Regions from separate parts of the Homo sapiens genome. Here region 1 is linked to region 2. Evidence: promoter capture Hi-C in 16 types of primary human blood cells and fetal thymus (Javierre and others, 2016). All regions are on one chromosome and are shown on one strand. Each heading gives the region's core, a stretch centred on a gene start or on the middle of the fragment in contact. The rest is flanking DNA. Distances are from core to core; before and after follow the strand shown.

Region 1 (6,235 bases), core at 464-2,963, 1.9 Mb before region 2:
GGCAGAGCATCAGGAAGAATAGCTAATGGATGCTGGGCTTAATACCAAAGTGATGGGTTGATCTGTGCAGCAAACCACCATGGTACACCTATGTAACAAACCTGCACATTCTGCACATGTACCCCAGAACTCAAAATAAAAGTAAAAGGAAAAAAAGTAAAGTAAGAGTATAGATTGGAAAAAAAAAATTGGCAAAGGATCTGAATAAACATTTTTCTAAGGAAGACATACAAATGGCCAACAGGTATATGAAAAAGTGCTCAATATCACTAATCATCAGATAAATGCAAACAAAACTACAGTGAGATATCTCGCACCTGTTAGGATGACTATTATCAAAAAGATAAGAGTTGGCAAGTGCTGGTGAGGGTGTAGAGAAAAAGAAATGCTTATACACTGTTGGTGGAAATGGAAATTAGTATAGCCATTAGGGCAAACAGTATGGGGGTTCCTCAAAAAGCCACAAATACAAGTACCACATGATCCAGCCATCTAACTTCTGGGTATATAGCTAAAGGCTGTGAAATTGCTATGTCGAAGAGGTATCTGCACCTCATGTTCATTGCAGCTGTATTCACGGTAGCCAAGATATGGAAACAACCTAAATATCCATGGATGGATGAATGGAGAATATTATTCAGCCATAAAAAGGAATGAAATCCTGTCTTTTGCAACAACATGGATGAACTTAGAGGAAATTATGGGAAGTGAAATAATCTAGACCCAGAAAGACAAATAATGTATGGTCTTATTTATATGTAGAATATTAAAAAGTTGAATTCATAGAAGTAGAGAGTAGAACAGTAGTTACTGGGTACATGGGGAAATGGTGGTCACAGGGCACAAACATTCAGTTATAACATGAACAAATTCTGGGGATCTGGTGTATGACATGGGTGATGATGGATATGTTAATGAATTTGATTGTGGTCATCATTAAACAATGTATATCAAATCATCAGTCATACACCTTAAAATATAAAATCTTTTTGTCAATTAAATACTAAACAAACACATAAAAAATCCAATATATGCACTGCTGAATTGGAGGTGGAACAGAATTTTACAAACTTCAATAACTCACACTGCATCATTAATGCTTTTTTGCCATATTCGGGTACCACCTATACTACTACTAACTTAATAGTCTTCTTTAAAGAGAGTCAATTTTAAAAAATAAATTTATTTAAAAGGAAACTTTACTTTGTCACCCTACATGGAAAATTGGCATCATTTTCCGTAAATAGGAGGTAATCATGAAAATGAATATGATGGGAACACACCAGTGTTTTGTAAGCTTAAGTAGAATATTCTCTTTTCTCTTGAAGGCTCTAAATCTGAGGTCAGTGCTTTATATATTGATAAAGACTAGCAGTGTTAGACTTTTAGGGAGGTGTTAAAGACATATTATCACCAAGCTGAGACTTTCTCATAATTATGAGGCTTTTGAGATAATTGATCTGGGAAGAATTTTCTCATTACGCAGCTCAATGTTTTTTAACGCTTTATTTATTTTCACCAAAAATTATCGTATTTACCATCTAAAATTGTGTTCCATTATGGGTCTGTGTCTGTGGTAGAGAAAATTATTGCTCTCAAAATATCCACCGTCTTCTCTAAGTTTCTCAACTTCCTTTGCAGATGGTTGGGATCATGTGACTTCTTCTGGGCACTGGCTGGTGAGTGCTACTATTGGGCTGTGGCAGTGAAGTGCCGTTTCACTGCTGGGCTGTGGCAGTGTAATGCTAGTGGGCTTTTTCCAGCTCCCTTTTGCATTCCATCCTCCTCCTTGCATTCCAGATATCACAGCCATAGGGACACCTGGACTCTACATGAGTGAGAAATACATTTACTGTGCCAAAGCACTGAGATTTCAGGTTAATTTGTTACTGCAGCATAGTCCAGGGGCACCCAATCTTTTGGCTTCCCTGGGCCACATTGGAAGAACTGTCTTGGGCCACACATAAAATACACTAACACTAATGATGGCTGATAAGCTAAAAAAAAAAAAAAAGCGCCATGCATAAATCTCATAATGTTTTATGAAAGTTTTTGAATTTGTGTTGGGCCACATTCAAAGCCATTCTGGGCTGCATGTGGCCTGCAGGCTGCAGGCTGGACAAGCTTGGTTTAAGCTATTCTGACTGTTGTGAACATGTGGCCCCCACTTGGGAAATATTATCTTTGAAAAACTTTTTTTTTTTTTTTTTTTTTTGAAATGGAGTCTCATTCTCTTGCCCAGGCTGGAGTGCAGTGGTGCTATCTCAGCTCACTGCAACCTCTGCCCTCTGGGTTCAAGCAATTCTCCTGCCTCAGCCTCTCAAGTAGCTGGGATTACAGGTGCACGCCACCATGCCCGCCTAACTTTTGTATTTTTGGTAGAAATGGAGTTTTGCCATGTTGACCATGCTGGTCTCGAACTCCTGACCTCAAGTGATTTGCCCGCCTCAGCTTCCCAAAGTGCTGAGATTACAGGCGTGAACCACCACGCCCGGCCTTTCTTTGAAAAACTTTTGACTAATGTTGGGCCTTCTCAGTTGGGACCCTTATTTCCTTTCTCCTACTCTCCTCCCTTACTGTTTCCTATTCTTCTTCCTTCTCTCTTCCTCCTCCCCTCCCCATGCATTCAGCTAATTCCGTCTCTGATTACCCAACATCACTCTGGGCTCTGCTGGAAGACTCAGAGCCTATAAAGCTTCAGAGGGGCCTCAGTGTTATTTTAGTCAGGCAAACTCCACAGGTAGGAGTTACTTCTCCACACCTCTGACAGTGTCACTTGCATACCTGCAGGAATAGGAAACTCGCTTCCTTTCATGGTAGTCCTTTCCATCACTGGGCAGCTCCATCTAAGAGGCACTTTCTCTTGTGATTAATCAGACAACATTTACACCCCCAGTCATTTCTACTCTTCCCCATGCAGAGTTCTTGCAGAATAGCTGTCCCTGATAAGGACAGCCCTTCCGAGGCCCAGGAAGAAGTCTCAAGGCTTCTCAGGCTCATTCAAGTCGCAAGACACACACACACCCAATGGAGGATTCTGGCAACGTACCATGTGGTAGAAATGTCAGTCCACATCTCAGGTGCATGGGAAATATCACTCTCTTTATTCATTCACTTCACACTATGGTTGGGATGTTTGTCTCCTCCAAATCTCATGTTGAAATGTGATTCCCAATGTTAAAGGTGGTGCCTAGTGGGAAATGGGGGCAGATCCCTCATGAATGTCTTGGTGCCCTCCTGGTGGTAATGAGTGAGTTCTCATTCTATTCATGTGAGATCTGGCCGTTAAAAATTTAGAGCCTGGGAAAGATGGTGACCAGAGGCTGCGAAGGGTAGTGGGGGGTGCCGGTTGGTGGCGGGGAGGAGTTGGGAAGGCTAATGAGTACAAAAATAGTTAGAAAGAATGAATAAGGGCCAGGTGCAGTGGCTCATGGCTGTAATCCCAGCACTTTGGGAGGCCAAGGCGGGTGGATCACTTGAGGTCAGGAATTCAAGACCAGCCTTGCCAACATAGTGAAACCCCATCTCCACTAAAAATACAAAAATTAGCCAGGTGTGGTGGTGGGTGCCTGTAGCTCCAGCTACTCAGGAGGCTGATGCAGGAGAATCACTTGAACCTGGGAGGAGGAGGTTGTAGTGAGCTGAGGTCATGCCACTGCATTCCAGCCTGGGCAACAGAGCGAGACTTCATCTCAAAAAAAAAAAAAAAAAAAAAAAAAAAGGAGAATTAGACCTAGTATTTGATAGATTTGATAGCACAACAGTGTGACTATGGTCAATAATAATTTAATTACACATTTATAAATAACTAAAAGAGTGTAATTGGCTTGTTTGTAACACAAAGGATAAATGCTTCCAATGATGGATCCCCCGTTTACCTTGATAGGATTATTATGCATTGCCTGCCTGTATCAAAATCTCTCATGTACCCCATAAATATATACACTACTATGTACCCACAAAAGTTGAAAAATTAAAGGAAGAATAGAGTCTAGGACCTCCCATGTCTCTCTTGCTCCCTCTCATCATGTGACACGTTGGCTCCTCTTCCTCTCTGCCATGATTAAAAGCTTCCTGAGGCCTCACCAGAAACTGAGCAGATGCTGGCACCATGCTTGCACAGCCTGCAGAACCTTGAGCCAAATAAACCTCCTTTCTTTTAATAAATTACCCAGCCTCAGGTATTCCTTTACAGCAATGCAAAATGGACTAACAAAGTTCATAACCATGTTTAATTTGTGTCCATTCTTCCAATCAATTTAGGTTTCCTTACATTCCTTGGGGTTACCCCTAAGTTCGGCAGGGGCGGAGGTCAGGGTGTTGGGGAGGGGACATCCATGATTTTCTGAGATTCTCAGCCAGTCTTTGACGTCAGGCCATGCGTGCTGCTGTGGCGCTGTGTATAACTGCATCCAAGTCTGAGGGATGCTCCTTGCTGCCCTCGAATGCCAACTCCTGGGTGCATTGAGATCAGGTGGGTGCCCATGCTAAGTTCAATGAGATGCACTGGGAAGTTACTGAGCTTTTCTTTCCTTTTCTTTTTCTTTTCTTCCTTTTTTTTTTTCTTGTTTTTTTTGAGGCGGAGTCTCACTCTATCGCCTAGGCTGGAGTGCAGTGGCATCATCTCGGCTCACTGCAACCTCCACCTCCCAGGTTCAAGTGATTCTCCTGCCGCAGCCTCCTGAATAGCCGGGATTACAGGGATGCGCCACCATGCCCAGCTAATTTTTGTCTTTTTAGTGGAGAGGGGGTTTCACCACATTAGCCAGGCTGGTCTCAAACTCCTGACCTCAGGTGATCCACCTGCCTCAGCCTCCCAAAATGTTGGGATTACAGGCATGAACCACCACGCCCAGACAATTACTGAATTTTTCTGAACCCTCCTGAGTCCTTCACCACGTCCACATTGCTCTTACACGCCTGGGACTCCTGCACTGCTCCACACCAGCTTGTGCATGGAGAGCTCTGGAAGCCTCTCCCAGCTACATTAGTCTAGGCACCGCCCCTACCTTCACAGGTCCACCTTCCTCTCCTGATTGGGCTTCAGCCTGGGTGGGGAAGACCCGGGACCCTTTCCCAGGGACCCTTCAGCATCTCATTCTCTTTGCTGCTCTTCAAATCCCTGGCATGGGGCAGGGCAGTGCTGGCTGCCTTACGTGCCTGGGTCTCATTGCTCCTTTCCACGACCCCAGTATGTTGGGTTCCATTTGGGTTTCCTTTTTAATAGATGGCGGAACTGAGGGCCAGAGAGGCAATGGGCATAGCAGAGCCAGGAGTGAAACCCAGGTGTGTCTGAGCCCTGTGCCAAAGCTCTTTCATCAGCACCCAGCTACTTCTCAGGAAGCACAACTGGGGATGTTACTGAAGTGCGAGAATTTGTGGACCCTGAGAGGTGATGTGGAGAGATTTGAGGCAAGAAAGGCCTGATCATAACCTGGAAAAGAGACCCCAGGGCACCCTCTGCCTTCAGGGGTTCCAGAGTGAGTGTCCTCACTCTCTCCAGAGTGAACATAAAGCTTTTTTTAATTCCACAAATATTTATCAAGACCCCTTATGTTCACTACTGCCAGGACTACAGCAGTGAACAAAAAGACTAGTGGAAAAAAAGACTGCCCTTGTGTAAGTAACTCTTTTTTTTTCAAAAGACAAGATCTCACTCTGTTACCCAGGCTGGGAATACAGTGGTGAGATCATAGCTCACTGTAGCCTCCAGCTCCTGGGCTCAAACAATCCTCCCACCTCAACCTCCCATGCAGCTGGGACTACAGGCACACACCACCATGCCTGGCTAATCTTTTTTTTTTTTTTTTGTATTGTTGTAGAGATGGGGTTGTGCTATATTGCCCAGACTGGTCTCAAACTCCTGGGCTCAAGCAATCCTTCTGCCTAAGCCTCCCGAAGCACTGGGATTATAGATGTGAGCCACCATGATGCTTGGCCAGAATCAACATTGCTATAGGTATAAACAGAAACAAACCCACAAAGAACTGAAGAGGTTAATTCTGGATTGGTTATCAGTCAAGTGAAGGATATGGATGAGTGTGTGTGACAGGTGGTCAGGGAAAGCCTCCCTGAAGAGTGACATTTGGGCTGAGACCAGCTGCATAAAGATCTGGGAACAGTGTCCCAAGGTAGATGGAACAGAAAATATGTGGCACTAACGAGGCCACAGGCTTGGTGCAGCTGAGGGACAGAAAGGAGCCAGGTATGGCCAGAGCATAGCAAAGGAGCTGGA
Region 2 (5,999 bases), core at 2,463-4,962:
TAGGTTCTCAGCACCATGTCTCTTCTTGGTGGCACCCATCTCCCTTAGAATTGTACTTGAGTTTGTGGATTACTTATTTAATTCCTGCCTCTCCCACCAGACTGAAAACTCAATAATGGGAGGGGAATCCTGCTTTTGCTCCCTACCTACCACCATATCTGGCATTAAATAGGTCCTCAATAAGTATTATTTAAAAAGAAAAATGAGCTGTGTAAGGATGCTGATACAACCCCTGGCATATACGAGGTACCCCACTGATTCTCTCTGCCCCACCCTCAGGTAATGCCTGTTATGTACATGGTACCCTAAGCTTCTGGGGCTAAAATTGGCTCAATTTTTAACATTTGGGAAACAAGTGATTAGGTTGTGTTTTCTAATAAGCTATCTACCTCCCAGAATAAGGATTTTTGTTTTGCCCACTGACATACATGTAGCCGAACTGGTGTCCAGGCCACTCGTCGCCTGAAAGCCAAAAACTCAAAAGACAAGCTTTGGTGAAAGCAAAGTTAGCTTTATTCGAGAAACCAGCAACCTGCAAAAGGCAGTGCACTAGCATTCAAAGACCACCTTTCTCAGTTGTGCCTCTAGATCCAGGGATTTTAAGGAAAATTAGGAGAAATAATGATCAAAACATTCTTGTGGGCCAGGAGCGGTGGCTCATACTTGTAACCCCAGCAATTTGGGAGGCCGAGGCAGGTGGATCACTTGAGGTCAGGAGTTCGAGACCATCCTGGCCAACATAGTCAAACATCATCTCTACTAAAAATACAAAAATTAGCCAGGTGCGGTGGCACACGCCTGTAGTCCCAGCTACTCAGGAGGCAGAGGCTACAGCGAACCAACATCACTGCACTCCAGCCTGGGAGACAGACCAAGACTGTCTCAAAAAACAAAACAAAGAAACATTCTTGTGAATCATGCGCAGTCTCAGATGGGCAGTTAGTCATTACTTTCTTGGTCAATGCCTTGTGACTAGACTGTGCAGGGGCCATCAGCCTGTTCCCAAAGCTGCGGGTCTGTGTGTTTTATCTGTTGAAGAAGGTCCTGTTTTTTTCTGTGGCTGTTTTTAGTGAATAGTTTACAAACTCAGGCAAAACAATAATTATACTCAAGCAAGCAAGCTTTTCTCTAACATAGAGTCAGTACTGCTGTTACCCGTTGCAGGGCCTAGGGGACTTAGCTGGACGCCTACCTGGCTTTTGTTACCCAATGCAATGCCTCCATGACATAGCTAAATTCCTACTCAGATTTAACTCTGCTTATTTTTAGAAAACAGGTTGTCTGTGGTCATAGGTTCCTTCTTAGCTTACTCGACCTCTGAAGAACCTCTAGCTTCATTCTAATCCAACTTCAGTACTAAATGACATTCCCACTGGTTGCCATGACAGTTGACAATCACCGTGATGACCCGAAGAGACCAAAAAAAGGACAAAAAAAGGGGCAGCTCCTTGATTCCAGGAAAATCTACCTCCCTTCCCAAGAAAAAACATGAATATTCCTCCTCTTGTTCTTAATTTTTATTTTTTTTAGAGACAGGGTCTTACCATGTTGCCCAAGCTGGTCTCCAATTCCTGGGCTCAAGCTTTCCTTCTGCCTCCTCGCCTTGCTCTTAATGCCCAGCCCCTTCATTAAGGACACCTGACGACTAAGCTCTGATTCTTTTGTTTTTTTTTTCTGTTTTGTTTTGTTTTTGACACAGAGTCTCACTTTGTCAACCAAGCTGGAGTGCAGTGGCACAATCTCAGCTCATTGCAACCTCCGCCTCCCGGGTTCAAGTTGAGTCTCATGCCTCAGCCTCCCAATCAGCTAGAATCACAGGCGTGTGCCACCATGCCCAGCTAATTTTTGTATTTTTAGTAGAGACGGGGTTTCGCCATGTTGGCCAGGCTGGTCTTAAACTTCTGACCTCAAGCGATCCACCTGCCTTGGCCTCCCAAAATGCTGGGATTATAGGCGTGAGCCACCACGACCAGCCTAAACTCTTGATTTTTTTAATCCTGCCCAAATTCCTATCTAAGGGATCTGGGGAGTCATGACCTACAAACCATAAATTCTCATCAGATGGGTTTTATTTAATCCTATATATGATGACTTACTTTCCATTCTGACTCTGGCATAACATTACGTGACAAAAAGAAAGTCAAAATATTTTACCCCAAAACATGTTTCCTTGCCCTATTTTGCAATTTCTTCCATAAAGGACAGCATTTTCCCCCAAAAGCTATCCTTTGTGGGGTAAAATGTGCATCTGTAAAGAACATCTATTAACATAGCTAGATGTTTTTCTTCCAGGCCCTCCCAATCCTAAACGGATTAACTAAAAGTCTAACACCTTTTGAAGATCTGAATAGGAAACATTTGTCATCTATTATCTCTAAGAGCAGCCACCATAAGACTTCAAAAGAACCTTAGTCTCCACTATCTTTTATCTTAACCTGAACACTTCCTTTCTATCAATCCCAGGTCTTCAGACAAACTCAACCAATTGTCAACTAGAAAATATTTAAATTTACCTATAGCCTGGAAGCCCCCACCCCCACCCCTTTGCGTTGTCCCGCCTTCCTGGACCAAACCAATGTATTTAATGTATTTGACTGATGTCTCATGCCAACCTAAAACATAAAACCAAGCTGCACCCCGACCACCTTGGGCACATGTTCTCAGGGCCTCGAGAGGGCTGTATCACAGGCTGTGGTTACTCGTATTTGGCTCACAATAAATCTCTTCAAATATTTTGCACGGTTTTACTTTTCGTCAACACTCCCTATTACCTGTAACTTCTCAGTTTCCAAGAGCTGAGAGCTTGATTTGCGAGCTACCCTCCCACTTCTCCAATTCCATGGCCACTGAATGAAGGCTGCACTGCCTGATACTCACACTTGGTCTCATGCGCTGGCTCTGCAACAACGGACAGACAAGAGTTCCTTTGGGGGAAACCAGCTTCCCAGGTGACACTGTTGCCTCTGCTACATGCGCAAAGCGCAGCCTGGCACATAGTAGGTGCTCAAGAGAGGGAAAGCCGGGTCTATGAATTCAGGGACAGGGGCAGCACCAGAAGAGAGCAAGCTGGGGCCTGGCTGGCTGAACCCTGGCCCCGAGACCCCTGTGACCCCCCTTCTCATCAGGATGCACCACATGAACCTCCCCAACGCGAGGGCCAACAAGTGGCCCCAGATGAGACCGCGCCGGGAAGGGCCTGGGGCCACGCACAGATACTTCCGCCAGAAAAACACCACGCCGCGCCGTGCACCTCCGCCAGAGGAAGAAGGTCCCGCAGGGTCGGGGTAACCGCTCCATCCCCGACCGCAACCCTGGACCAGGTACAAGGAACAGATCCCTCCACCGGAACGCCGTGTCCCTCCGCCAGACACAGGAGTCCCCGCTCCCGTGCTCTCCTTCCCCGGCAGCCAGGCCCCGGTGCCGACTCCTCCGCCTCAGGGAGGCCCCGCCGCCGCCTAGATTCTCCGCCTGAAGCGGGACTCGCGACGGCAGGTTCCCTAGAATCCCTCTGTGTCCCTCCGCCCCGGGGAGGACCCTCCGCGCCCCTCTACAATCTTAAAGTCCCTCAGCGACGAGTCACCGCGCCGCGCGCTCTCGCGAGAGTCCACCGCACGGCCCCCCCCCCCTCCCCCAGCCCCTCGCCCGCCAGGACGCCTCGCGCGGGCCCCGCGGCGCTCGGTGGCAGGCGGCGCATGCGTGACTGCGGTTCCCAGCGCCCCCCGCGCTCTCCGCGGGCCGAGTGGACGAGGCCGAACGCGAGCAGCCTGCCGCTGCCCCCTGCGAGCCCTGGCTTCGCCCCGCAGCTCTTCTCCCTTCCGGGCGGAACAGTTTTTGCGGCCTTTCCTCGGCGGCAGCGGTTTCCTCAGGACGGTCGGGGCCGTCGTGGGCCCGAAAGAGCCCGGCGCCGCTCTCGGAATCCGGCGGCCCCAGCGGCACCCGCGGCGGCCTGGACGTGCTGCGGTGACCCGAGCCCGGAACCTGGCGCCGGGCGGGGCCTGCACATCCGGCCCCACCCACTCGGGGACTCGCCTCTCCGCGCCCGACCCGGGAGTAGCGGACACACCCCCTCCCGGCCCGGCTGTCCGCCTCCGCCCAGCCTTTCCTCAGCCTGCTTCATTTTTCTCCCAGTCGTCCAGCCTCCCGGTTTCCGACTTTGCACTAAGAGGGATGCACTCTGGAAAACCACATTGCGCGGTCACATCTTGTTTGGAGAAGAGGCCAGGCTTTTGCATCTTAGAGTATACGTTCACCTTTTCAAGGGCCTGGCATAGATTTGATTAATCAGCCTGGAATACCCTGTTCCTGCCGACCTGGCCGTTTTTACCTCCGTACCTTATCACACTCCCAGGAACATTAAGCAGGGAGCGCTTGGAGTCTTCTTTGGGTCCCCACCTTGAGCTAGACGTGAAGTTGACCCCTGGGCTGCAGCATGGCTGTCGCCCTCGACTCTCAGATCGACGCGCCCCTGGAGGTTGAGGGATGCCTAATAATGAAGGTGGAAAAGGACCCTGAGTGGGCATCAGAGCCCATTCTGGAAGGATCGGATAGCTCTGAGACCTTCCGCAAATGCTTCAGGCAATTCTGTTATGAGGATGTGACTGGACCCCATGAAGCTTTCAGTAAACTCTGGGAACTTTGCTGCCGGTGGCTGAAGCCAGAAATGCGTTCCAAGGAGCAAATACTTGAGCTGCTGGTGATTGAGCAGTTTCTCACCATTTTACCCGAGAAGATTCAGGCTTGGGCACAGAAGCAGTGTCCGCAAAGTGGAGAGGAAGCGGTGGCCCTGGTAGTGCATTTGGAGAAAGAGACTGGAAGACTAAGACAGCAGGTGAGAGAGGATTTTCCAAATTTTTGTACTTAGAAAAAAGGGAATGGGAAAGGCATGTGGGCAGGGATGTATTGCAGAAAGACGTGCTCTTCAGAGAAAGATAAATGGTACTAATAAAAGACCCTATAAGGGGGTCTTTTCACTTTAAGTGAATCCACTTAAAAGGGGATCAGAATTTCACATGAAATAGAAAAATAAAAGCTTTGATTGAAATATTATCTTACAATGGAAACCAGACATTATTCACCTAAGCATTTATCGTCATCTTTGGCATAATGTTTGCAACAAAACAATATAAGAGAACAATATGGTTTTGCGTCACAGAGGTTCACTTACGCATTTTGATCAAAAAAGGCTATTCTGTTCCCCCTTTAAAAAAAAAAAAAAAAGACTTCATCCGTTATCCCAGAGCCGTCTCCAAGCGTTTTACTGTTGCACTCAGTGTCTTCTGAAGTGCTCTCATGCCTTCATTTCTGTCACTCTCCTCCAGTCTAACTGCCACATCTTCATTTCTCAGTGGCTTGCATGCTCTTCTAGTTGTTCTTCAACCTCACTTTCATGAACCTCGTGAAATCCTGCAGCATTTGCAAGATTTGCGGTTTCACCTTGCATCAGACTTGCATTGTGTAGAGATCTATCAGCAGGTTGCTGTATTGGTCAGGGATAGACAGATAGATGTGGATATTAATTTTGTAAGTTTTCATTTCACTACTGTATATATTCATGTCCTGGTAACTTCTTTGCGAACGTAACAGATATAGAGTCAAATAATATCTATTCTAGCAACAAGGAGGCTCTTTCACTCCTGACAGATTTCCTTCTCTGTTTAGTATTAAATATTATTCTGGCCAGGCGCGGTGGCTCACATCTGTAATCCCAGCACTTTGGGAGGCCGAGGCATGTTGATCACCTGAGGTCAGGAATTCGAGACCAGCCTGACCAACATAATGAAACCCCATCTCTACTAAAAAAATATAAAATTAGCCGGTTGTGTTGGTGCATGCCTGTAATCCCAGCTACTTGGGAGGCTGAGAGAGGAGAATCGCTTGAACCTGGGAGGTGGAGGTTGCAGTGAGCCAAGATCGTGCCATTGCACTCCAGCCTGGGCAACAAAAGTGAAACTCTGTCTCAGAAAAAAGAACACTGTTCTGTTACCTTACACCCAGACTGC

Evidence for each region. Contacts are between HindIII fragments. The CHiCAGO score rates a contact against its expected background, and 5 or more counts as called.
Region 1: a fragment that was not itself captured here is called in contact with the fragment with the promoter of ZKSCAN2 in region 2 in 1 of 17 cell types (endothelial precursors); the score reaches 6.4 in endothelial precursors.

The regions. Positions count from the first base shown.
Region 1 is chr16:27,114,157-27,120,391 of GRCh38, reverse strand. No RefSeq gene overlaps it. Among named protein-coding and RNA genes, the nearest start is that of C16orf82, 50 kb to the right of the region's middle. The HindIII fragment of the contact is 827 bases long and covers 1,300-2,126 here.
Region 2 is chr16:25,255,558-25,261,556 of GRCh38, reverse strand. ZKSCAN2 (zinc finger with KRAB and SCAN domains 2) reads left to right here and starts at 3,712. Exons shown (of 7, transcript NM_001012981.5): 1 at 3,712-4,828. The coding sequence starts at 4,430. It overlaps ZKSCAN2-DT (ZKSCAN2 divergent transcript), which reads right to left and starts at 3,980. Exons shown (of 1, transcript NR_170220.1): 1 at 491-3,980. RefSeq lists enhancers at 2,851-2,930, 3,051-3,370, 3,786-4,346 and silencers at 3,581-3,780, 3,861-4,100. The HindIII fragment of the contact is 3,031 bases long and covers 1,585-4,615 here.